Linked DNA regions of Homo sapiens: regions 2, 3, 4 and 5 are each linked to region 1. Evidence: promoter capture Hi-C in 16 types of primary human blood cells and fetal thymus (Javierre and others, 2016). All regions are on one chromosome and are shown on one strand. The core of a region is centred on a gene start or on the middle of the fragment in contact, and the rest is flanking DNA. Distances in the headings are between cores, read along the strand shown.

Region 1 (4,239 bases), core at 1,676-4,175:
GAGCAAAATGCACAGCAGTGTCTGCCTCCTAAAGCTTTGCTCCAGCCAGTACAAGTCAACGACAACAACAGGCAAATCCACCCAAGAAGAGGACCTCAGATGGCTGTAAATGCTAAGGCGACAAGGAAGCGGGGCAGGTGTACAGGGAGGACAGGGAGTTTCCAATAGAAGCTAAGAGGATGACATATGAACAAAGCCCTGGAAGAGTTGAGGGACCCAGCCATACAGCTATTTGAGGAAAAAGGTTCCCAGCAGAGAAAACAGCAAGGGGGTAAGCATTCGAGGCAGGAGTCATTCTGCCTGTTTGATGGACAGCCAGGATGCTCAAGTGGCTGCAACAGAGTGGGCAGCGGGACAGGTGGAGGGGATGAGGTCAGGGAAGAGGGAGGCACACTGCATAGTGTCTTACAGGGCATTGACTCTGAATGGGTGGGAAACCATGGGAGGAGTTTCGGCATGGAAATGGCATGATCTGACATGTTTTTAAAGGATCACTCTGTGCTGCTAAGAAAAGCCTGAAGGGGCAAGGGAGGAAGCTGGGAGACCAGCTGGGAGTGTAGTTCAGAAGATCCTGTGGGAAGAGATGGGCCTGGGCCAGCATGGGAGCAGCAGGATGGTGAGAAGGAGTAGGAGTCTGGATATATTTTGAAGGGAGAATTTGCCAATGAATTGAATGTGGGAAAAGGGAAATAAAAAACAGAGGACAAAAGGATGACTCCAAGATTTCTGGCATGAACTATTGCAGAGATAGTGATGTTGGCAAGTGGAACATATTTAGCAGGAACAATTAGGAGAACAGTTTTGGTCATAAAGTCATCCCTCTGTATCTGTGGCTCCCACCTTTGTGGATTCAACCAACTGCAGATTGAAACTCTTAAAAAAATTGCATCTGTGCTGAACAAGTACGGACTTTTTTCTTGTCAATAAAGTATAACAACTATTTACATAGCATTTACATTGTATTAGGTATTATAATCCAGTGATGATTTCAAGTATACAGAAGGATGTGTGTGGGTTACATGCAAATACTACACCATTGTATATCGGAGGCTCGACGAACATCCATGGATTTTGGTATCCACAAGGGGTCCTGGAACCAACTACCTGGGGATACCAAGGGACAACTGTATTAAGTTTGAGATGCCTATCTGATATCCAAATAGAGATGTTGGTTAAAATATATGTGTGGCGTTTAGGGGTAGGGAGGTCTGGGATAGAGTTGTGCCTTGGCAGTCATGAATGAACAGATGGTATTTAAAGTCCTGAGTCTGTATAATATCACCAAGGCAATGAGTCTAAAGAAGAGAATAGATACCCAAGGATTGAGCCAGGGACTCTGCAGTGTCTAGAGGTTGGGGATATGAGGAGGAACTGGCTTAGAAGACTGAAAAGAGTGTGGCAAGAAATCGAGAGAGTGTAGTGTCCGAAAATCAAAAGAAGAGCGTGTTTCAAGAGAAAGGGCATGGTCAGCTATGTGAAGAAAGTGAGAACTGAGGACAGACCATTGAATTTAACATGGAGGCCACTGGTGGTCTTGACGAGAAGTATGCACTTCTTATTGTTTTTCTGCTTCATTTCCCCCTTAGACATACAGCTGATAGCTGGAAAAAGAAAATACCGCACAAATGAGCTGGATGCTTCTGGTCAAAAGCATACATCCCCTTCCAAGTGGAATTGCAAGCATCCCAAAGAATCTCAAGCGTCCAGTCAAACATGAGTTCCCCTGGGCAAAGGATGCACTAGAATAGAAAAGGTAAACACCAGCCTGGCTCAGGGTCCTAAAAGAGCTGCAATATTGCTAACAATGATAATATTCAGCTGCTGAGAACTTTTCCTTTTCTATCCAGATGTATATTGCTTTGTGTCTCTCTATCCTAACCAAAGATTCATCAATAATTCAAGGAACCTAAATGGACAGGCCCATAAATCACACCTATGGTATATTTGGGGGCTAAAAATCATGTAGTTAGCTTTCTATACAGAAACTTTCCAATGCTTTGGCCTCAAATCATGCCACAAAGTGTTGACTGCTGGAAATCCTCAAGATAAATGTTCTGCTGGGCATGGTGGTGGATGCCTGTAGTCCCAGCTATCTGGGAGGCGGAGGCGGGAGGATCACTTGAGCCCAGGAGTTCAAGACCAGCCTGGGCAACTAGATCATGTCTCTAAAAAAAAAAAAAAAATTTAAGATAAATCTTCCCCTACTACCATGAAGATAGAGACTGTCTTTGTAATCTCTGTACCCTCAGCAGCAAGCACACTGCTGGATACATAGCAGGCACTCTAAAACTGTAGAATGAATGAATATCTCTGAGTGTCTCAAATCACAGATGTGTCTACACTAGCCCAAATGAGCTTTACTGTAGATTCAACTCTTGTATACTAAACAGCCATATTGGATAAAACATGGCAGAAGGTTTTTTGATGATTTAATTGATTTGCAGAAATGCAACAAACTGTATTTTCTCCATATCACTTCTTACTTGGAGATGTGCACACACTCCCACCTCTTTAGGGGGTTATATCTTCATGGATGCATCCCATGTGAGCCTCTTGCTGGAGCTGTCGCCATCCTAACTTTCTGGTGGTTAGCCACACTCACAGTGAAAAAACCTATTGCATTTATGACCAAAGCAAATTAATGTCCCCTTAATGGCAATTGTGGTAGACTTATAGGGAAAAAAAAGACTATAATGTTTATATGTTTATGTGTTTTTAATGTTTATTGGTTTGCTGTTACAGCCCTCATCCCAATGAGACTAGGTGTGTCTGAGTTAACTCATTGTCAAGGAGGTTATAGGCATGCAGAGTTTCTGCTAACTACCCAAGCTCATAAATGCCTGCAAATGGATTTTTTCATTTTTATGGGGCCAAGCCTCAGATCACCACACACATAAAAGGGGTGCAAGGGTTCCACTGGCCTCAGAGGGACTCCCAGCTCCAGCTCACCCATTCTACACTTGCTCTTTTGCTCCCAACCAGGAAGCCATCATGTCTTGCCGCTCCTACCGAGTCAGCTCTGGTCACCGGGTGGGCAACTTCAGCTCTTGTTCAGCAATGACACCACAGAACCTGAATCGCTTCCGGGCCAACTCTGTCTCCTGTTGGAGTGGGCCTGGATTCCGGGGCCTTGGCAGCTTTGGTAGTCGGAGTGTCATCACCTTTGGATCGTACTCACCCCGGATAGCAGCTGTAGGCTCTCGGCCCATCCACTGTGGAGTCCGCTTTGGTGCTGGCTGTGGGATGGGTTTTGGTGATGGGAGAGGTGTTGGTCTGGGGCCTAGGGCTGACAGCTGTGTTGGTCTGGGCTTTGGAGCTGGCAGTGGCATTGGCTATGGCTTTGGTGGCCCTGGCTTTGGTTACAGAGTTGGAGGGGTTGGAGTCCCAGCAGCCCCATCTATCACAGCTGTGACTGTGAACAAGAGCCTACTGACCCCCCTCAACCTGGAGATTGACCCCAATGCCCAGAGGGTGAAGAAGGATGAGAAGGAGCAAATCAAGACCCTCAACAACAAGTTTGCCTCCTTCATTGACAAGGTACCTATGATAGCTGAATCTCTGGGTCTAGGAATATTACAGCCAAAATGCGCTAGAGTGCTCTTTCCCTTAAAAAGAACTGGCCCGGTTCTGGGGACTTGACCTTGACCTCAGATCTTTCAAGTGCCTACCTCAGGCATTGTGGTATGCTTTATGGGTTGCTCTGCTGCAGAGCAAGGCCAAGCCAGAGGACGAGCTGCATGGTGGGATAGATTCCGACAGTGTTGATATCTTCTGGAGGACAGAGGAGCATCCAGCCAAACTCGAGGGCATCTCGACAAACTAAGATGTTGCATCTGGTCACTTAGAAATGTCTCTGAAACAGGCTGGAAACACTGGGACTTTAGCCAGGTGTTGGCTGGTATATGCTTAAGAGGTTTTATTCTTTGAGATCCTTTTGTTCCTTATGAAGTTTTCATAGTTTCTGAGGCTGAGTGGCCTCATCTATTCAGGCTTAGAAAAGTAGAGAATGGAGTTGAGTAATTAAAAAAAGAAGAAGAATTCATACCCCCACATGGGGTATCAAAATTCGGCCAAGTTGCCTAGATTCAGGGAAATTGCAGGGAATGACCACTGGTAGTCACTGGCTTCCAGGCAGATGAGTGGGAACAGTGATGTGGATAACCCAAAAGAACTGACATCCCACACACCATGTCTATGTGGAGATGGAATGGTTATGTCTGAGAATGAAGGATAACCTCT
Region 2 (4,327 bases), core at 327-2,826, 540 kb before region 1:
ATTCATTCATTCATTCATTCATTCATTCAGTGAATCAAACAAGTTCCTGTGCTGGGTGTGGAGGGAAGCAGAAACATGTATAAGACACGCCCCTACTTTTGAGGAAGATGCCTTGGCGCTGATGTGCGGGCCCTGGACTTAGGGTACAGGACTCCGGTTTGAGCTCTGACTACTACTTGCTGGGCACATTACTTCTTAGAGCCTTGGATTCCTCATCTGTAAATAAGGATAAGAAGACTGAACTCCCAAGGTCCTTGTGAGGGTCAAATGAGACAAATATGGAAAATGCCTCATTAATAGTGGATGTTCAGTGCATGCTAAATGACTGTGGATCAGGTTTACAATCAGGGAGGGGAGCTCAGACATGCCCACAGCAAGTGTAACCCAGCCCAGGGGTGTAACAAAGCCCTATTCTTGGGGTCTCTATAGGAGTGGCCACTTCCGGCAGAGGTGACTGGGGCAGGCTTTGTGGGGAGGTGCCTGATGCATGATTTTCATTCAGCAAATGTTTGCGGAATGAATGGGGTGAGCTGGAGCCAGGACCTGCAGGAAGGGTAAGGTTTCAACAGGTGCAGGTGACAAGGAGGTGCTTCAGGAGAGGAGGGCACAGTCCTGGGGGTGGGGTGGGGAGGGCAGCTAGTGCCAGGTGGGGAAGGCTAAGCCTCAGCCACCAGATGAGGAATTTGACCTTTATTCTGAAGGCAACGGGAAGCTCTGGGCTAGGGAGTGACAGGATCAAAGCAGTGTTTGTAGAAGATCAGTCTGGCTGGGCACTGGAGAGGATACCTGAGCGAGCAGGAGAGGTGGTGGGGGGCGGGGGGCAGGGACACACCAGGCAGAGGGACAGTGTGTACATGTCTAGAAGTCTCAGGACAGGCAATTATGTCACCCCCTTCCACTCTGCAGAGGGGGCCTCTCGCACCAGCCTGTCTCCAGGGCAGGTCTCACCAGCCTGCTAGGAGGGAGCTTGAAAGGGAGGTGGGGAATTTCTCAGGGACACAGAGAACATGAGAACACTGCCTCCTTTCTCCTCCTTCCTCCCCTACCTGGGGCCCAGCTCAGAGTAATGGGCCCTGAGGGGGAGAGAAACGCAGCCCTGGAACTGGAACCTGGGTCCCTTTGTTGGTAGGCTCCACCTCCTGTCCTCTAAGATAGAGGGCTGGAAGAGACAAAGAAACTATTAGGCCCCATTAAGAACTGTGCATAAACCCTAGAACTCAGGAACAGAGGGATAATTGAGGTGATAGTATTGCCCAGCCCTGGAGCCCAACTTTCCTTGAAGGGGAAATTTCTGGCCTGGGGCTGGCTGGTAGGAATCTAAAGCCTTAGCCTTTGTGGAGATGAATCATCCTAATCTATCTCTTTGACCCCACCTCCGCCAAAGAGATCCCTTTTGCTCCAATCTCATTCCTGAATGTGCCACACTTCAGGTATCAATGGGGCAAGGCCAGGATGACGGAGGGGGATACCTGCAGGGGAAGAGGTGTTGAGCAGGTTTCTGAAAATGGTGACCATTTCAGACCCTAAATGGCGCCATTCATACCTAAGTGCTGAGTGGTCTCACAGTTTTAGGTATGCTTCGGGGCCCACAGTCTCTCCCAGCCTCCAGCCCTGACTCAGCCTGAGCCCCTGGGAGCCAGAGATAGCTATCCCAGCTATTCAGAGGAAGGAGATAAGGTTTATGGCTCTGGACAGGCTCACCCTGGGGAGACTGTGCATACACACCTCCTCCAGCTGCATTCCTCCCGGTCCTGACCTTGTCTTACTCAGTCTTTTCCTGGAATTACTACAGGAAATAGTGAGCTGTCTGAACGCACCATTTTCAGAAAACTGCCTAGCACCTCCTCCCCTGAAGGTATCCCCTCAATCATCCCGGCCTTGCCCCATTGAGGTCTATACAACATCTTTTTCTTGGCTTCTGGGCAGGCCTGATCCCATCTAGGACCAGTGAGAAGGGGGCCCAGCCCTGTTCCTTTTCCACAGACGCATCCTCCCCATTCCTGGTCACTCATTTCTGCTCCAATGACTCCTTGAATTAGTAAGTCCTTCCTTCAGTCTACCCTTTCACTCCCTTTCGGTGCTTAGTTAAGGAGAGGATGCTCCTCTGTGCGTTGGCTGTTGCCGCAGACCACAGAGTACAGCTGAGGGTCCACTTCACTCCAGGAGCCCTTTAGCTGAGGGGAGGAAGGCAAAAGACAGAAGGAACGGTGAATTCTTAGAGAAGAGTGCATGGTCTTTTCCCATCACAGTAGTGTCCTATACAGTAGTGTCCTATACAAGCAATTATCTTTACAAATTACAATTATCTTTACAATTATCTTTACAAACATTATCATCATATAATTTATTTTATTTTTAAATTTTTATTTATTTTTTTGAGACAGGGTCTGGCTCTGTCGCCCAAGCTGGAATGCAGTGGCCTGTCATAGTTCACTGCAGCCTCAATCTAATTTATTTTACATATGAGAGAACAAAAGCTGAGAGCCCAAATCAAGTATGATTTTTTTTTTTTTTTTTGAGACGGAGTCTCCCTCTGTCGCCCAGGCTGGAGTGCAGTGGCGCAATCTCAGCTCACTGCAAGCTCCGCCTCCCGGGTTCATGCCATTCTCCTGCCTCAGCCTCCCTAGTAGCTGGGACTACAGACGCCCGCCACCATGCCCGCCTAATTTTTTTGTATTTTTAGTAGAGACAGGGTTTCACCGTGTTAGCCAGGATGGTCTCGATTTCCTGACCTTGTGATCTGTCTGCCTCAGCCTCCCAAAGTGCCGGGATTACAGGCATGAGCCACTGCGCCTGGCCTAATGTATGATTTTAAGTATAATGCTTTTGGCCGGGTGTGGTGGGTGGCTCACAACTCGGCTCATGCTGAGGCAGGCGGATCACCTGAGGTCAGGAGTTTGAGGCCAGCCTGGCCAACATGGTAAAACCCCGTCTCTACTGAAAAAATACGAAAATTAGCCAGGCGTGGTGGCGGGCGCCTGTAATCCCAGCTACTCGGGAGGCTGAGGCAGGAGAATCGCTTGAACCCGGGAGGCGGAGGTTGCAGCGAGCAGTGATCATGCCACTGCACTCCAGCCTGGGCGAGAGCGAGGCTCCGTCTCGAAAAAAAAAATATATAATGCTTTTCTCACTACACTGCAAGCACTTTAGGCAATTCAAAGCTCTAAAATCCATATTAATTTAAATGTAATAATACAGGTAATTTTAATAATTTCAAAAATTAATAATTAGTAATAAAAATAATTTAGAGCCGGGCGTGGTGGCTCACGCCTGTAATCCCAGTATTTTGGGAGGCCGAGGCGGGCGGATCACGAGGTCAGGAGATTGAGACCATCCTGGCTAACAAGGTGAAATCCCGTCTCTACTAAAAATACAAAAATTAGCCAGGCGTGGTGGCTGGCGCCTGTAGTCCCAGCTACTCGGGAGGCTGAGGCAGGAGAATGGCGTGAACCCAGGAGGCAGAGCTTGCAGTGAGCTGAGATTAAGCCACTGTACTCCAACCTGGGCAACACAGCGAGACTCCATCTCAAAAACAAAACAAAACAAAACAAAACAATTTAGGAATAAATGGTCCTGCCCCTTCATTATATAGATGAGGCAACTGTAGCTCAGAGAGGAGCAGTAACTTGTCCAATGTCACACAGCAATTTAGAGACCGAGTTGAGACTAGAACACAGGCTATTTGATTTCCAAACTTATGTTTTCCTGCTACTGCACATTCTTCTAGGAATAGTCTAAAACAATTCTCAAAACAAAAATTTAACTTAATTTCATTTAATTTTCATCATAAACCTTAGAACGCTTTGATTTTAATCACACATCCTAGAGCACTTTGGAGGTAGTGGTAGGAATTTGCAGAAGTGCAATGATGTGAGGGAGGGTCAGTTCACAGGACGAGTGGGAGGGCAGAGAGCTGGGAGCCTGGCTACGGAACCCTCACTCAGCTGTCCTGGGCTTCCTGAGCTTCCCCAGATCAGCGGGGAAGCTCCTGGAGGTCTTCTGGAAGGCACCTTCCTTTATCAGAGGTGTTGGCCGATCAGTTCAAGCTCTCATGCTGGCTGCAGAATCTGCCTTCCTGCCTCCTGCATCTCCCAGACTGTCTGCCTAGATCCAGGGGACTGGGAAGCTAAACTTTGGGTTTTGGAGCCAGAAGAGCTGGGTGGAATTCTGATCCTAGCACTTAGATGCTACATGACTTAGGAAGTAGATGGAAAGTTTCTGAACTTTCATCTCCTCATCTGTAAAATGAGGTTATTTGTACTTTCCTTATAGGTTTGTTTATTTATTTATTTTGAGACAGAGTCTTGCTCTGTCGCCAAGGCTGGAG
Region 3 (3,943 bases), core at 1,290-3,789, 570 kb before region 1:
CCTCAGCCTCCTGAGTAGCTGGGACTACAGGCGCCCGCCACCACGCCCGGCTAATTTTTTTGTATTTTTAGTAGAGATGGGGTTTCACTGTGTTAGACAGGATGGTCTCGATCTCCTGACCTTGTGATCCTCCCACCTCAGCCTCCCAAAGTGCTGGGATTACAGGCGTGAGCCACCATGCCGATAACATGTATATTGTTTTAAGTCGCTAAGTTTATGGTAATTTGTTAGAGCAGTAATAGGAAACTAATATACTCCTACCCCACCAACTGCTGAGTCCTCATACCTTGCTCTATCTTTTCCCATAACACATACTCTTTCTAACATACTCTGTAATTTACTTGCTAAATTATCGTTTATTATGTCTCCATCTGCTAGAATTTAAACTCCACAAGAACAGGGATTTTTTTGGTCTGTTTTATTCACCACTGTATTCTCTGGACTTAGAACAGGTCTTAGTACACAGTAGGTGCTCAATAAATACTTATCGAATGACTGATTGAAAGAATATGGTGGAGCCAGGCATGGTGCCTCTACTAAAAATACAAAAAATTAGCCAGGCGTAGTGTGCACCTGCAATCCCAGTTACTTGGGAGGCTGAGGCATGAGAATTGGGAGGTGGAGGTTGCAGTGAGCTGAGATCGTGCTATTGTACTCCAGCCTGGGTGACAGAGCAAGACTTGTCTCAAAAAAAAAAAAAAAAAAAAAAAAAAGAAAGAAAAAAGAAATAAAAAAGAGTGGAACAAAGACAGCAGCAACATTTCCTTCCCTGGAATTCTGTAGATTCCTGTACCATTGAAAAGTTAACAATCGGCCGGGCGTGGTGGCTCACGCCTGTAATCCCAGCACTTTGGGAGGCCGAGGCGGGCGGATCACGGTGTCAGGAGATCGAGACCATCCTGGCTAACACAGTGAAGCCCCATCTCTACTAAAAATACAAAAAAATTAGCCGGGCATGGTAGCGGGCGCCTGTAGTCACAGCTACTTGGGAGGCTGAGGCAGGAGACTGGCGTGAACTTGGGAGGCGGAGCTTGCAGTGAGCCGAGATCGCGCCACTGCACTCCAGCCTGGGCGAGAGCGAGACTCCGTCTCAAAAAAAAAAAAAAAAAAAAAAAAAAAAAAAAAGGAAAGTTAACAATCCTTCCCTGCTTTCTTTGTAATTAGTAATAAGTAATTCAGAAGGTATAAAAGGACACACAATGTAAAGTAGTCTTCCTTCCCCCTTGTTTCCCCCCTACCAATTTCTCTCCCCGGAGGCAATCACGAATTCCAATTTCCTGTCTCCTTGTAGAGATGTTTGCATGTACAAGGGTATATACATATGAGTTGCTTTTTTCCCTCAAATGGCACTATATGCCATTCTGTATCTTCCAGTACCATTTATTAATTTTATCATCTGGGTTGGGTTGCACTTTGATAGAGAATGGATAAAATAGGACTGATATAATATGGAACAGATGACTCCATGTTATAACCTTGGGATTGATAATTTTAACCTTTGGTGCTTGGGGGACAAAATAGGCTGCCCCTCAGTCATCTTCCCATGCTGGGGAATGAGTAGGATTGTTCCAGAGGCCTCGGGATTTTCCAGCAGTGCGCTGTTTAAAATAGGCACAGCCAGCCTGGCACAGTGGCTCACACCTGTAATCTCAGCACTTTGGGAGGCCGAGGCGAGCGGATCATGAGGTCAGGAGTTCAAGACCAGCATGACCAACATGGTGAAACCCTGTCCCTACTAAAAATACAAAAATTAGCCAGGCGTGGTGGCGTGCACCTGTAATCCCAGCTACTTGGGAGGCTGAGGCAGGAGAATCACTTGAACCCAGGAGGCGGAGGTTGCAGTGAGCCAAGATCGCACCACTGCATTCCAGCCTGGGTGACAGAGTCTCATAAATAAATAAATAAATAAATAAATCTGACACAACCATAACCTGAATCAGGAAGGAATGTCATGCTGCAAACCCCAGGTACAGCTTGGGTCTGGCCCCCAACCTTGCCTGCCTATTGGAGTCACCTAGGGAGCTTTTCAAACATTTGCCCTGAGTCCTGCCCTCCAAACACCTGAATCAGAATCTCTGGTGCTGGGACCCAGGCCTCAGTATTGTTTGTAAAGCTTCCCGGGGATTCTATTGTGCAGCCCGCACAGTTAAGTTATAGCACACAGAGGAAAGACCTGCGGACTGGGAACCTGGAGATGTGGTTCCTGCTTTAAGCTTCCAGCTCTGTGACCTCAGACAAGTTGCATGATGCCTGTGGACCTCAGTATCCAACTCTCAGAGCCAGAGCCAATAATACCCACAGCCTTGCATACCTCACAGGATTGTAATGAGGATCAAATGCATAAGCACCCTGGGAACTGTGAGACATTGTCTAATGGGAGGGCTAATCGTATCAGGTGCATCGTCTTGGATTACTCTGATCAGCTTGACTCAGCTGCAAGTACTGCTCAGGCTCCCCAGGGACTTCCTGTTTTACCTTCAGTCAGCTGCGCATCCTATAACGTTGGCTGGTGTCTGTTTTTTGCAAAAACAAAGCTACTAAAGATCAAGATGGCCAGGCACGGTGGCTCACACCTATAATCCGAGTACTTTGGGAGGCCGAGGCAGGTGGATCACGAGGTCAGGAGTTCAAGGCCAGCCTGATCAACATGGTGAAAACCCCGTCTCTACTAAAAGATACAAAAAATTAGCTGGGCATGGTGGAGGGTGCCTGTAATCCCAGATACTCAGTAGGCTGAGGCAGGAGAATCGCTTGAACCTGGGAGGCAGAGGTTGGAGTGAGCCAAGATCGTGCCATTGCACTCCAGCCTGAGCGACAGGGTGAGACTCTGTCAAAAAAAAAAAAAAAAGAAAAGAAAAAGCTTTTAGGCTGGGCGTGGTTGCTCATGCCTGTAATCCCAGTACTTTGGGAGGCCAAGGCTGGTGGATTGCCTGAGCTCAGTTCGAGGCCAGCCTTGGCAACACGGTGAAACCCTGTCTCTACTAAAATACTAAAAATTAGCTGGGCATGGTGGCATGCACCTGTAGTCCCAGCTACTCGGGAGGCTGAGCCAGGAGAATTACTTGAACCCAGGAGGGAGAGGTTGCAGTGAGCTGAGATCATAGCACTGTACTCCAGCCTGGGCGACAGAGTGAGATTCTGTCTCAAAAAAAAAAAAAAAAAAAAAAAGATCAAGACATCCATTACTTAAAGACCTAGGTTAGGTTAATTAATTTGTACTCCACGCAGTAGAGTACTAAGCAGCTACTCAAATGAATGGGGCAGGTCTATGTATACTGATTCAGAAAGGTGTCCAAGATGTATTTTCATTTATTTTTATTTTTTGAGACAGAGTCTTGCTCTGTTGCCCAGGCTGGAATGCAGTGGTGGAATCTCGGCTCACTGCAAGCTCCGCCTTCCAGGTTCATTCCATTCTCCTGCTTCAGCCTCCAGAGTAGCTGGGACTACAGGTGCCCGCCACCATGCCCAGCTAATTTTTTTTGCATTTTTAGTAGAGATGGGGTTCCACTGTGTTAGCCAGGATAGTCTCGATCTCCTGATCTCGTGATCTGTCCGCCTCAGCCTCCCAAAGTGCTGGGATTACAGGCATGAGCCACCATGCCCAGCCCCGAGACGTATTGTTAAATGAAGAAAGTAGAATTTAAGAAATCAAAGCCAAGCATGGTGGCTCACGCCTGTAATCCCAGCACTTTGGGAGGCCGAGGCAGGTGGATCACAAGGTCAGGAGTTCGAGACCAGCCTGATCAACATGGTGAAACCCTGTCTCTACTAAAAATACAACAATTAGCCAGGCGTGGTGGTGGGTGCCTGTAATCCCAGCTACTCAGTAGGCTGAGGCAGGAGAATCGCTTGAACCCGGGAAGCAGAGGTGGCAGTGAGCCGTGATGGTGCCACTGCACTCCAGCCTGGGCGACAGAGTGAGACTCTGTCTCAATTAAAAAAA
Region 4 (4,526 bases), core at 1,416-3,915, 620 kb before region 1:
TGGCTTATTACTGGCAAGTCTACTAAAGTAGTCACAATGAAAATTTAAGAAAAATGAAAAACTTCGTATTTTTAAGATTTTTTTTTGAAATGGAGTCTTGCTCTTTTGCCCAGGCTGGAGTGCAATGGCACAATCTCGGTTCACTGCAATCTCCCCCTCCCAGATTGAAGCGATTCTCCTGCCTCAGCCTCCGGAGTAGCTGGGATTACAAGCACGCGACACCACGCCCAGCTAATTTTTGTATTTTTAGTAGAGACAGAGTTTCACCATGTTGGTCAGGTTGGTCTCCAACTCCTGACCTAGTGATCCGCCCGCCTCGACCTCCCGAAGTGCTGGGATTACAGGCGTGAGCCACCGCGCCCGGCCTTTAAGAATTCTTTTTAAGAAGCAAAGCAAGGAATTAAGTGTACTGGCTCAATGTATCAAGTTTCTAGGAATTCAAACTATCCTCATTCTATAGTTAGTTCTGAGACCTACCTTAGTTCTTGAAGGTCAATAATGGATCACACTGGAAACTGGTATTGCTGCAAAGAATTTTTTGGTCTCATTTAACAGTAAAAGAGGCGTATGAAGTTGTTTTATGTATTTTCACACAGAACACATAACATCCATTTCCCACATCAGGGAATACTGGTTACTTCACAAAGCCAGTGTGACTGGAAAGAGGAGCGGGGAAACAATCCGATAAACCCCAGATTCCTCAAGAACAGACTGAAAGATGTGACTTGTGCTCAGATACCAGTACCAGCTAAAAAGATTTACTGAAGTGAATTAAAGGAGATGAGGGTTTTCAAGGGGGTAGAGTAAATATGGAAGAACAAGAGAATGGGACGTCAGAGTAAATCCCTTTTATCAGTCTGGATTTCCCTCAACTCGGTAAAACGAAGGACATGAATTGCTGTCCTATGTTCCGCCTCTAAAAATTACACAAAAGTTAAGAAAACACAGATTTTCTTCACTAAATTACGATACTAAACTGTTAAGGTGGCAAATCCAGACCAAGTAAGTACTTTAAGCAATGGTTAGTTTAAAATATATTTAGGACTTTTACTAGCCCACTGGAGAAAAAAATATGAACATTTTTGTAAACTTCAGATGCTTTCGGGCAGCGTCCTAAACTGATGATGACACCTTGATACTTTTAAGTTGCTAAGGAGTCTCAAAGATTATGACCTTGCTCTGCCAGCTGAGAGCAGTGTGGCCTTAAATAATATTCCTTAGCTGAGAAATACCACTAGCTCTCTGCAGTACCTCAGGATGGAAGGAGACAACATGCACAAAAGTGCTTGGTCAACTGTCAAGCGTTACACCAATGAAAGATGTTCAAATGCACCTCAAATTTCTCAACATTTTCCAAAGCCAACCAAAACCCTTAGCTTCTTTGTAATAGAGACGATGAATTACTAGGTAAGAAATGAGCACCCAGAGATAGAAGTTCAAATAATGTTTTGAAGAATGCAAGGTCATGCCAGAGAAAACAAACTATATTCCTCAAACTAAAATCAATGCTACAAGATGTTGGGTCATCACTGCTTTTATAAGCCCATTAGAAATGTAATTAGACTTGCAAGGCACTGATACTCCCCTCCAAGGTTGTCTAAAGAAGTAAGCAACTCCAGCCATTAGTAAGCACTATTTTAAAAGTACCTGCTGGTAGTTGCACAGTTACCTTAAAAAAAAAAAAAAAAAAAAAAAAAAAAGGCTGAAATCTACCATTGGAGCTATCCAAATTCAACCAACATGGAAGCGCCGGAAGCGAAACCTGATCCTGGCATATAGCTGCGCTGAGTAAAAAATGCCTCCAATTGAGTATGAGAAAAAAGCCTAGAAGGAAATCTAGGTGCACACCGGTGCTTCTCCAACACGTGGGCGCACCTAACTGGATTCCCCACCCCCATCTAACGCCAATAGCACCAACCTCCAAGGCTAACACACACACCCTTAGAAGAATACAGGCACAGGGCCCACACTCTAGAAAGGGAAGAGACAACCTAAAAGGACATAAGTGCGCAACACAGGCGCGTTAAAAAGCTTCCCATCTGGGTTCTAGCGCACGCATTGAAGGCGCGCCCGTCTCTACTACCCTCGTGTCTCCTACCGCGCACGCGCACCGCTGCCTTCCCCCGCCCCTCCACCAACTCGCGCTCGCGTTCCAACTGCTCCCCCCCACCACACTTACTCCCCTACCCCCCACTCCGGTCCGCTACAGCCTCGCGCCTTGGAGACGTAGTCTAATGTGCACTCGTCCGCGCAGCAACCGCCTCCTTCCTTCCTCCACGCCTTCACGCGGGCACGGTGATTCACGTCTACGAAAAGGCCTCGCACCACCCGCACACCTTTCTGCGCCTCCTTCCCCAATTCAAGCCAGAGTCTACCATTACTGCCTATTCCAATCTCGCGCAGAAAGGGTGAAAAGAGTGTGAGGGGGAGGGGAAGGTGTCCTTCCCCTCCCCCCCAAACATCCAGAGGCAGTAACCTAACAGGGCCACGCCGCCAGCCTGCCGCAGCCCTCAATTCAGAAAGGAACCAGTGCCAGCAATTCCCCGACTTCAGGAAATCAGTGGATCACGCTCGGAGGGGGGTTTCAGAGCCCAGTCCTTGGCCGCGCTCGGCTGCTCGCTCACCTGAGGCCGCCATGTTGGGAGAGGGAAAGAGAACGCAAAAGACCCGGATGAGGCAATCACGTGATTATAGCGGGCGCGTCGAGCTAGGAGACGCGAAGCTGGGAGGGGGCGGGGAGGTGAGGACGGAGACAGGAGGCGGGGCGGCGCTGCTCTAGGTTCGTAAAGCTGCGCGGCGAGGTGGCACGCCGTCCGACGGGAAGACATGCGCGACATGTGGCCAAAGGGGCGGGGCCTGGGTTGTCGCGAAACCCCTCACGCTTTACGTAGGGCTACACGCGAGCGCGGGGCTGGAGCTGAGTCCTGGCCGGCCTCCTGACGCACAGACTTCCTGCCGGAAGAGTGGCGGGAAGGGCGGGGCTTCGCTGCTGCTTCTGCTTACTCTGCACGGAGCCGGTGATGGGTGTGGCGAAATGGATGTGCTGAAAGGGAAGATTCTGAGTTTAATGTACTTTTTTGAGACGGAGTTTCGCTCCTGTTGTCCGGGCTGGAGTGCAATGGCGTGCGCGACCTCGGCTCATTGCAACCCCCGCCTCTCGGGTTCAGGCGATTCACCTGCCTCAGCCTCTGGAGTAGCTGGGATTACAGGCGCCCACCACCATTCGCTGCTAGTTTTTTGTATTTTTAGTAGAAACGGGATATTTCACCATATTGGCCATGCTGGTCTTGAACTCCTGGTCTCAGGCTATCCACCCGCCTCGGCCTCCCAAAGTGCTGGATTATAGGCGTGAGCCACCGCGCCCGGCCTAGTTTTTAAAAGCCACATCAGAAATCACTGATTTTATTTTTATTTATTTTTATTTTTTGAGACGGGGTCTCGCCCTGTCTCCCAAGCTGGAGTGCAGTGGCGCGATCTCGGCTCACTGCAGCCTCAACCTCCGGGGCTCAAGCAGTTCTTCCACCTCAGCCTCCTGAGTAGCTGGGACCACAGGCGAGTGCCTCCAGGACCAGCTAATTAAAAAAAAGTCTTTGTGTGGAGACAGAGTGGCGGGCTTGGGGGGGGCGGTGTGTCTCCCTGTGTCGCCTGGGCTGGTCTCGAACTCCTGGACTCAAGCATTCCTCCCTCCGAGGCCTCCCACAGTGCCGGGATTACAGGCATCAACCACTGTTTGTTTTCAAATTACTTTTTGTAAAGGCAAAACAAATCGAACGTCTTGTGTAAGAATGGTTTTAATGAGGCATATTTAGACGGAATAAGAAGGTAACAAATGCTGAACACTTAATTGTCATGGGCTTTTACCTCATTTAATGGTCCAATTTGCTGACTAGGTTTAGTCCAACTTAGGCCTTTAGGATTTCTGAGACTAGGGCTATTCATGCTTCCCCTAGCTGATGTTCCATTTCATTCATTAAATGAAAATTTTTGTTTCCCACCGTGTGCCAGGCACAGACACTTGCGGGTACAACATGGAATAGAACTGTCCCAAAAGAGGTTATATTCTAGTGGGGGAAGGACAGATAATAAGCAACTAATAAAATATTACAACAAGTATTCTGTGAGTAATTAAAACAAGGTGGTGTAATAAGTTATTAGGTGCAACTTTAGATTGCCTGTCAGAGTAGACCTCTGAGGAAGTGACATTCAGACAGAGGTCTAAATTACAAGCTGCCATCCCTGGGAATGTCTTCTGAAGAGGTTTAGGAGAAGACAGGATGCGCAGTTGGGTTTGCTGCAATATGGTGAGGGCAGGGGAGGGAGGAGTGGTACAGGATGAATCTTGAGAGAGAGGGGCTGGATCATGTGAGGCTGATCATGTGAGGGGATTGGGAAAGTGTGGAATGATTTAAGGCAGAGAAATGTCATGAGTTGAAATAAAATTTTAAAAAGGATTACTTAGTATCCTGATGTGAGTGGTGGTTACATGGGTGTATATCTAGAATTCGTATACTTAAGATTTGTGAATA
Region 5 (4,522 bases), core at 1,610-4,109, 520 kb before region 1:
GAAATACCTTGCCTTGGTCAAAGGAGACTCCTACCTCCTTTGGTTTGAGAGGACCCAAATACTTCATCTCCTGAAATTTTTTAGACTACTGCCTGATAAGCAAATATGTGGATAAATGAAAAGGTGAATACAGGAAGGAATAAAGGCCTCTAGTCCCTGTCCCCAACTCCCACCTTAGTCCTCAGGTTGCCCAGCAGGAAAATCAAAACAGTGGGCCTCTGGATATCAGCTCCAGTGCTAAGCAGCTCAGGCCAGGGGAATCCTCAGGGCTGGGGTGGGGGTGGGCAGGATGCCTATAGCGGAGCCCCAGGTCCTTCCTGTTTGTTCTTTTCCTGCACTCCTGTCCGGTTGCCTGAACACCATGAGGGCTTCCCCTATCGCAATGTCAGCTTCTGAAGTTTCCTTGAAATCCTCTCAATAACTTCCACTTCCTGTCACTCAAGTCCCCAGTACCGCTGTCTTCACTGTCAGGAGTGGGACCCATTTGTGTCTGTCCTCTCGCAGTCTCTGTCTCTGTCTCTGTGGCCCTGGCCAACGGTGGTGGAGTTTCAGGTTCTGGGGACTGAACCACTCTGTTTTCCTTCCTGAGGGACAGAGTATATCACCCTTTCTAAGCAGGAACCTGCAGTGCTGTGGATTTGAGCTCTGGCCTATTTCCTCTGGGAAGAGGAAGAAAGTGTGTTCCTAAAGGTCTTGGTGTTGGGACCAGAGCTAAAGCCTGGTGCCTGACTCTGGCTGTACCGAGGAAGCTTTGAAAATGCAGACGGGGTGCGACCTGAGCACGTATACTGTTATAATCTCCCACGGGCGATCTTGATGTGATGGAGAACCAGAGTTAAGGGGAAGGACTCTGTGGACTGAGCCATAGCTGGGACCTTCCGCCTAGGCTTCATGCTCACCCAGTGGGATGACCTTCTTGGTTTGGCATCAGTGGAGAGGAGGGTGAGAGAATGTTGAAAATGTGAGAAAGGCTGTGTGCAGTGGCTCACGCTGTAACCCTAGTACTTTGGGAGGCTGAGGCAGAAGGATTGCTTGCATCCAGGAGTTCGAGTCAGGCTGGGCAACATAGTGAGATCCTGTCTCTAAAAAAAAGAAAAAAAAGTGTGGGAGACCTCAACATCTTCAGGCTGCTGGGCTTGTGTCTCCTTCCTCCACAACAAGGCTGTGCTGTCCTCCCTCACTCTTGTTCTAATAATTTCTAATCATATCTCTTATCACAAGCAAAATTTCAAACCAGAGAACATTCACAGATTTTCATCTTCAGTGCGTAAAGCTCTATGGTGGTGGATGTGGATCAAAAGCTTTCAGAGTTGGCGGGACTTGGACATTCTAATTCAAACCCTAGCAGATGTGAGAACCCCCTCCCACTGAGCCAGTGGACAGCTGGTGAGCAAGGTCCCTCTCCATGTCTCCAGGTACAGGAGGTTGCTCCCTCTCTAGGCAGTCCATTTCCATCCTGGCTGGCTTTAATCATCAGATCCATCACTGATCAAGAGCAAAAAAGTCAGCATTTGCTAAGCTTTGACAATGAAAAATTTTAGCCTTGAGGCACATAACACAAAATTAGCAATCGAATTGACTCTATTATTCATGATGCTGCTTCCTGAGGGGTGTACCCACCACCTGTGGCTTCCTATTTAAACAAATTGTTCTGCTGTCTCTATGCTAAATGCAGCTATTTCTATACCAATAATAACATTTCAAAATGCTCCATCATTTAAAGGGATTTCGGGTGCTTTTCGGGCATTGCCTTAACCCAGAGGCAGGAAGCCTCTTTACCTGGGGCATCTAAACAAACTCTTTGCTTCTTTCCCCTGACCCCTTATGCTGGGCACAAAGCCCCTGCTTTTTATATGTAGCTCATTTATGCTTTTGTGGTTATCTTTTTGTTACAACTTTGTTGAGCTGTAATTCACATACAATATAATTCAACAATCTGAAGCTTGCAGTTCAGTGATTTTTAGTATGTTCACAGACTTGTGCAGCTTCACCATCATCAAATTTGTTTATTTATTTATTTATTTTTGAGACAGAGTTTCACTCTGTCTCCCACGCAGGCTAGAGTGCAGTGGCACAGTCTTGGCTCAATGCATGCGGCCTCAACTTTCGGGGCTCAGGTGATCCTCACAACTCAGCCTCCAGGGCAGCTGGGACTACAGGCGTGTGCCGCCATACCTGGCTAATTTTTGTATTTTTTGTAGAGACGGGGGTCTCATTATGTTGCTCAGCTGGTCTCAAACTCCTGGGCTAAAGTAATCCTCCTGCCTCGACCTCCCAAAGTGCTGGGATTATAGGTAGAGCCATTGTGCCTGCCCACCACCATCAAATTTAGAACATTCTCATCACCCCAGAAAGAAACCCTGTGCTCTTTAGCATTCATCTCCATTCCTCCCCTCCCTAGGCAACCACTAATCTACTTCCTGTCTCTATGCTTTGCCTGTTGTGCACATGTCATATAAATGGAATCATAGGGTACCTGATCTTCTATGACTGTCTCCTTTCACTGAGCATACGGGTTTCAAGGCTCATCTGCATCCAACATGCATCAGTAGTTCATTCCTTTTAATTGTAACATTAGATCGTATGGATATGCCACATTAAAGAAATCCATTCGTCATTTGGTGGACATTTGTTTTGTTCCCACTCTTTGGCTATTATGAACAAGGTTGCAGCGAATGAGATCATCAGTCCTGATCTCTAAGCAAAACTTGTTCAGATCCCGGGAGGCGGAGCTTGCAGTGAGCCGAGATTGCGCCACTGCACTCCAGTCTGGGTGACAGAGCGAGACTCCGTCTCAAAAAAGAAAAAAAAAAACTTGTTCAGACCATCTCTTCCCATGATCATGAGTGATGATAACAGCTACCTCCCCACCCCACTGGCCCCAAGACTTAATGCCACTGCTCAGGGTCTCAGGGCCTTCTCTGAATTATCCTGCACCATCAGAAGTAGGGGGCCTGGCCCTCACTCTTGGCCCACAGGGAGTGAGTGTCTCCTCCTTCCCTGGTTCACTCTCCAGGAAAGGCGGTTTGAGGCAGAGTTGTCTGGGTAGGGCAGGCACCGCAAACACGTTGTTCCCTTTTGTCCGGCAGGCAGCTGTGTGTAGACCACAATGCCTTACAAGGAGTTGTACCTGTGGGCCTGCTCCAGTCTGGTTCTCTCTTCCCTCACCACTTGGCCCTAGTCCCAGGGGCCTTCTCCTTCTGCCTTTAACCCTGAAGTCCCAGGCAGGGGCCATCAGAGAGGCCAACTCTGGCCTCTTCTCCTGCACCGAGGCTGTGCTTGGGGCATCTGGGGGAAGGTTTGGCTGGGGTCTCTGGGCAATAGAGAGATGACAAATGAGACACAAACACTTCTGGCCCTAGACGGTTCTGGGCTGCCCCAGAAAAAAAGGGCTTCCCCTGGCTGGGTAAGGTCTGGGTCAGCCCTCCAGCCTGCATACTGCAGGGTCCCTGGCAACCCCCTCTGTCCTCACCTTAAACAAGGGACACTCCTAGAACCAGGGAACCAGAAAGGTGGGGTGGAGGGGACTGGAATTTCAGGAAAGGCTTTGGGGTGCTGTTTTTTTGCTCCTTGTGCTGCCTAGATCAGGACCTGAGTGCCCCCTGCTCCCTCTAACAGCAGCGTGGGGGAGGGAAGATAGGGAGAGCGCCTGTCCTCCCTTTCCAGGGCTGCCATACCCGTCTGACCAGCCCCTCCCTCCCTCCTTCCGCCTTCCCTGTCCCAGGTTTGGCACTGGGCCCAGTCCTTCTCCCTTTGGTCTTCTGTTAAAAGCTTCTCAGCCCTGGTGGGTGCGGGTGTTTGTTGGGGAGGGGGTAGCATGCCTTCCAATCACTCTTGGGAAAATTAGGCATTGTTTAAAGGAGCTGGGAGAAGGCCTGGTGTAAATAGGTGCTAACTGAATTTCCCTTGCTCCATTCAGCATAGCAGGAGGCAGGGCCTGGGGAGGGGAGGGGAGGTGAAGGAGCCACTCACTGTGCCCGCTCTTGGGATCTATGCATTTTTCTGGAAGGGACTTCAATGTGTGGGGTGTGTGTGTGTGTGTGTGTGTATGCACGCGTGCATTGTGAAGAGAGCTTGTCTGTGTGTCTGTCTTTTTAAGTTTGTCTGTCCTCCAAGGAGGGGGCTTCTGGGTCTCTCTGTCCTTCTGGGTAGGGGTCCTATGTGCCTGTCTTTCTGTGAGCCTGGGTGTCTCTCCTAGAGAAGGATGGGGAAGAAACTGTACATCTGTCCTCCCAGTAGGTGGTCACCCCCTTCCCTGGGTCAGGGCTATGTCACCTGTCCCTCTCCTCAAGGGGATCTGGCTGTCATCTGTTGGTCCTCTGAGTTCAGTTTCATCCAGTCCCCACATCACACCCTGCAGTATCTTCCAGAGAACCCAGCCCCAGCCATCAGGTAATTGCAGGTGGAATCTCTGCCTTGGGGACCTAAACCTCCTGCCTTCCACCCACAGCATGCCCTGCCTGGCCCCACCCAGGCCTGGGGTGCCTTGCTCAGCTCCCCAATCTCCAACCTCCCACAGGTG

The links. The method cuts DNA at HindIII sites, captures the fragments that hold promoters and counts their contacts. A CHiCAGO score of 5 or more calls a contact.
Region 2: a fragment that was not itself captured here is called in contact with the fragment with the promoter of KRT84 in region 1 in 5 of 17 cell types (M2 macrophages, M1 macrophages, naive CD8 T cells and 2 more); the score reaches 9.4 in M2 macrophages.
Region 3: a contact is called between a fragment that was not itself captured here and the fragment with the promoter of KRT84 in region 1, in 4 of 17 cell types (M0 macrophages, M2 macrophages, erythroblasts and 1 more). The highest score is 7.8, in M0 macrophages.
Region 4: a contact is called between the fragment with the promoter of EIF4B here and the fragment with the promoter of KRT84 in region 1, in 3 of 17 cell types (erythroblasts, M2 macrophages and M0 macrophages). The highest score is 7.5, in erythroblasts.
Region 5: a fragment that was not itself captured here is called in contact with the fragment with the promoter of KRT84 in region 1 in 3 of 17 cell types (M0 macrophages, M1 macrophages and M2 macrophages); the score reaches 8.4 in M0 macrophages.

Annotation. Positions count from the first base shown.
Region 1 is chr12:52,384,338-52,388,576 of GRCh38, reverse strand. It overlaps KRT84 (keratin 84), which reads left to right and starts at 2,925. Exons shown (of 9, transcript NM_033045.4): 1 at 2,925-3,537. The coding sequence starts at 2,992. The HindIII fragment of the contact is 9,508 bases long and covers 37-4,239 here.
Region 2 is chr12:52,922,639-52,926,965 of GRCh38, reverse strand. It overlaps a transcript of KRT8 not described here. Among named protein-coding and RNA genes, the nearest start is that of KRT8, 20 kb to the right of the region's middle. The HindIII fragment of the contact is 7,195 bases long and covers 1-4,327 here.
Region 3 is chr12:52,955,621-52,959,563 of GRCh38, reverse strand. No RefSeq gene overlaps it. Among named protein-coding and RNA genes, the nearest start is that of KRT18, 8.5 kb to the right of the region's middle. The HindIII fragment of the contact is 647 bases long and covers 2,216-2,862 here.
Region 4 is chr12:53,004,595-53,009,120 of GRCh38, reverse strand. It overlaps EIF4B (eukaryotic translation initiation factor 4B), which reads right to left and starts at 2,665. Exons shown (of 15, transcript NM_001417.7): 1 at 2,625-2,665. The coding sequence starts at 2,637. RefSeq lists enhancers at 1,807-2,550, 2,551-3,294. The HindIII fragment of the contact is 14,247 bases long and covers 2,034-4,526 here.
Region 5 is chr12:52,906,518-52,911,039 of GRCh38, reverse strand. It overlaps a transcript of KRT8 not described here. Among named protein-coding and RNA genes, the nearest start is that of KRT8, 3.7 kb to the right of the region's middle. The HindIII fragment of the contact is 1,829 bases long and covers 1,945-3,773 here.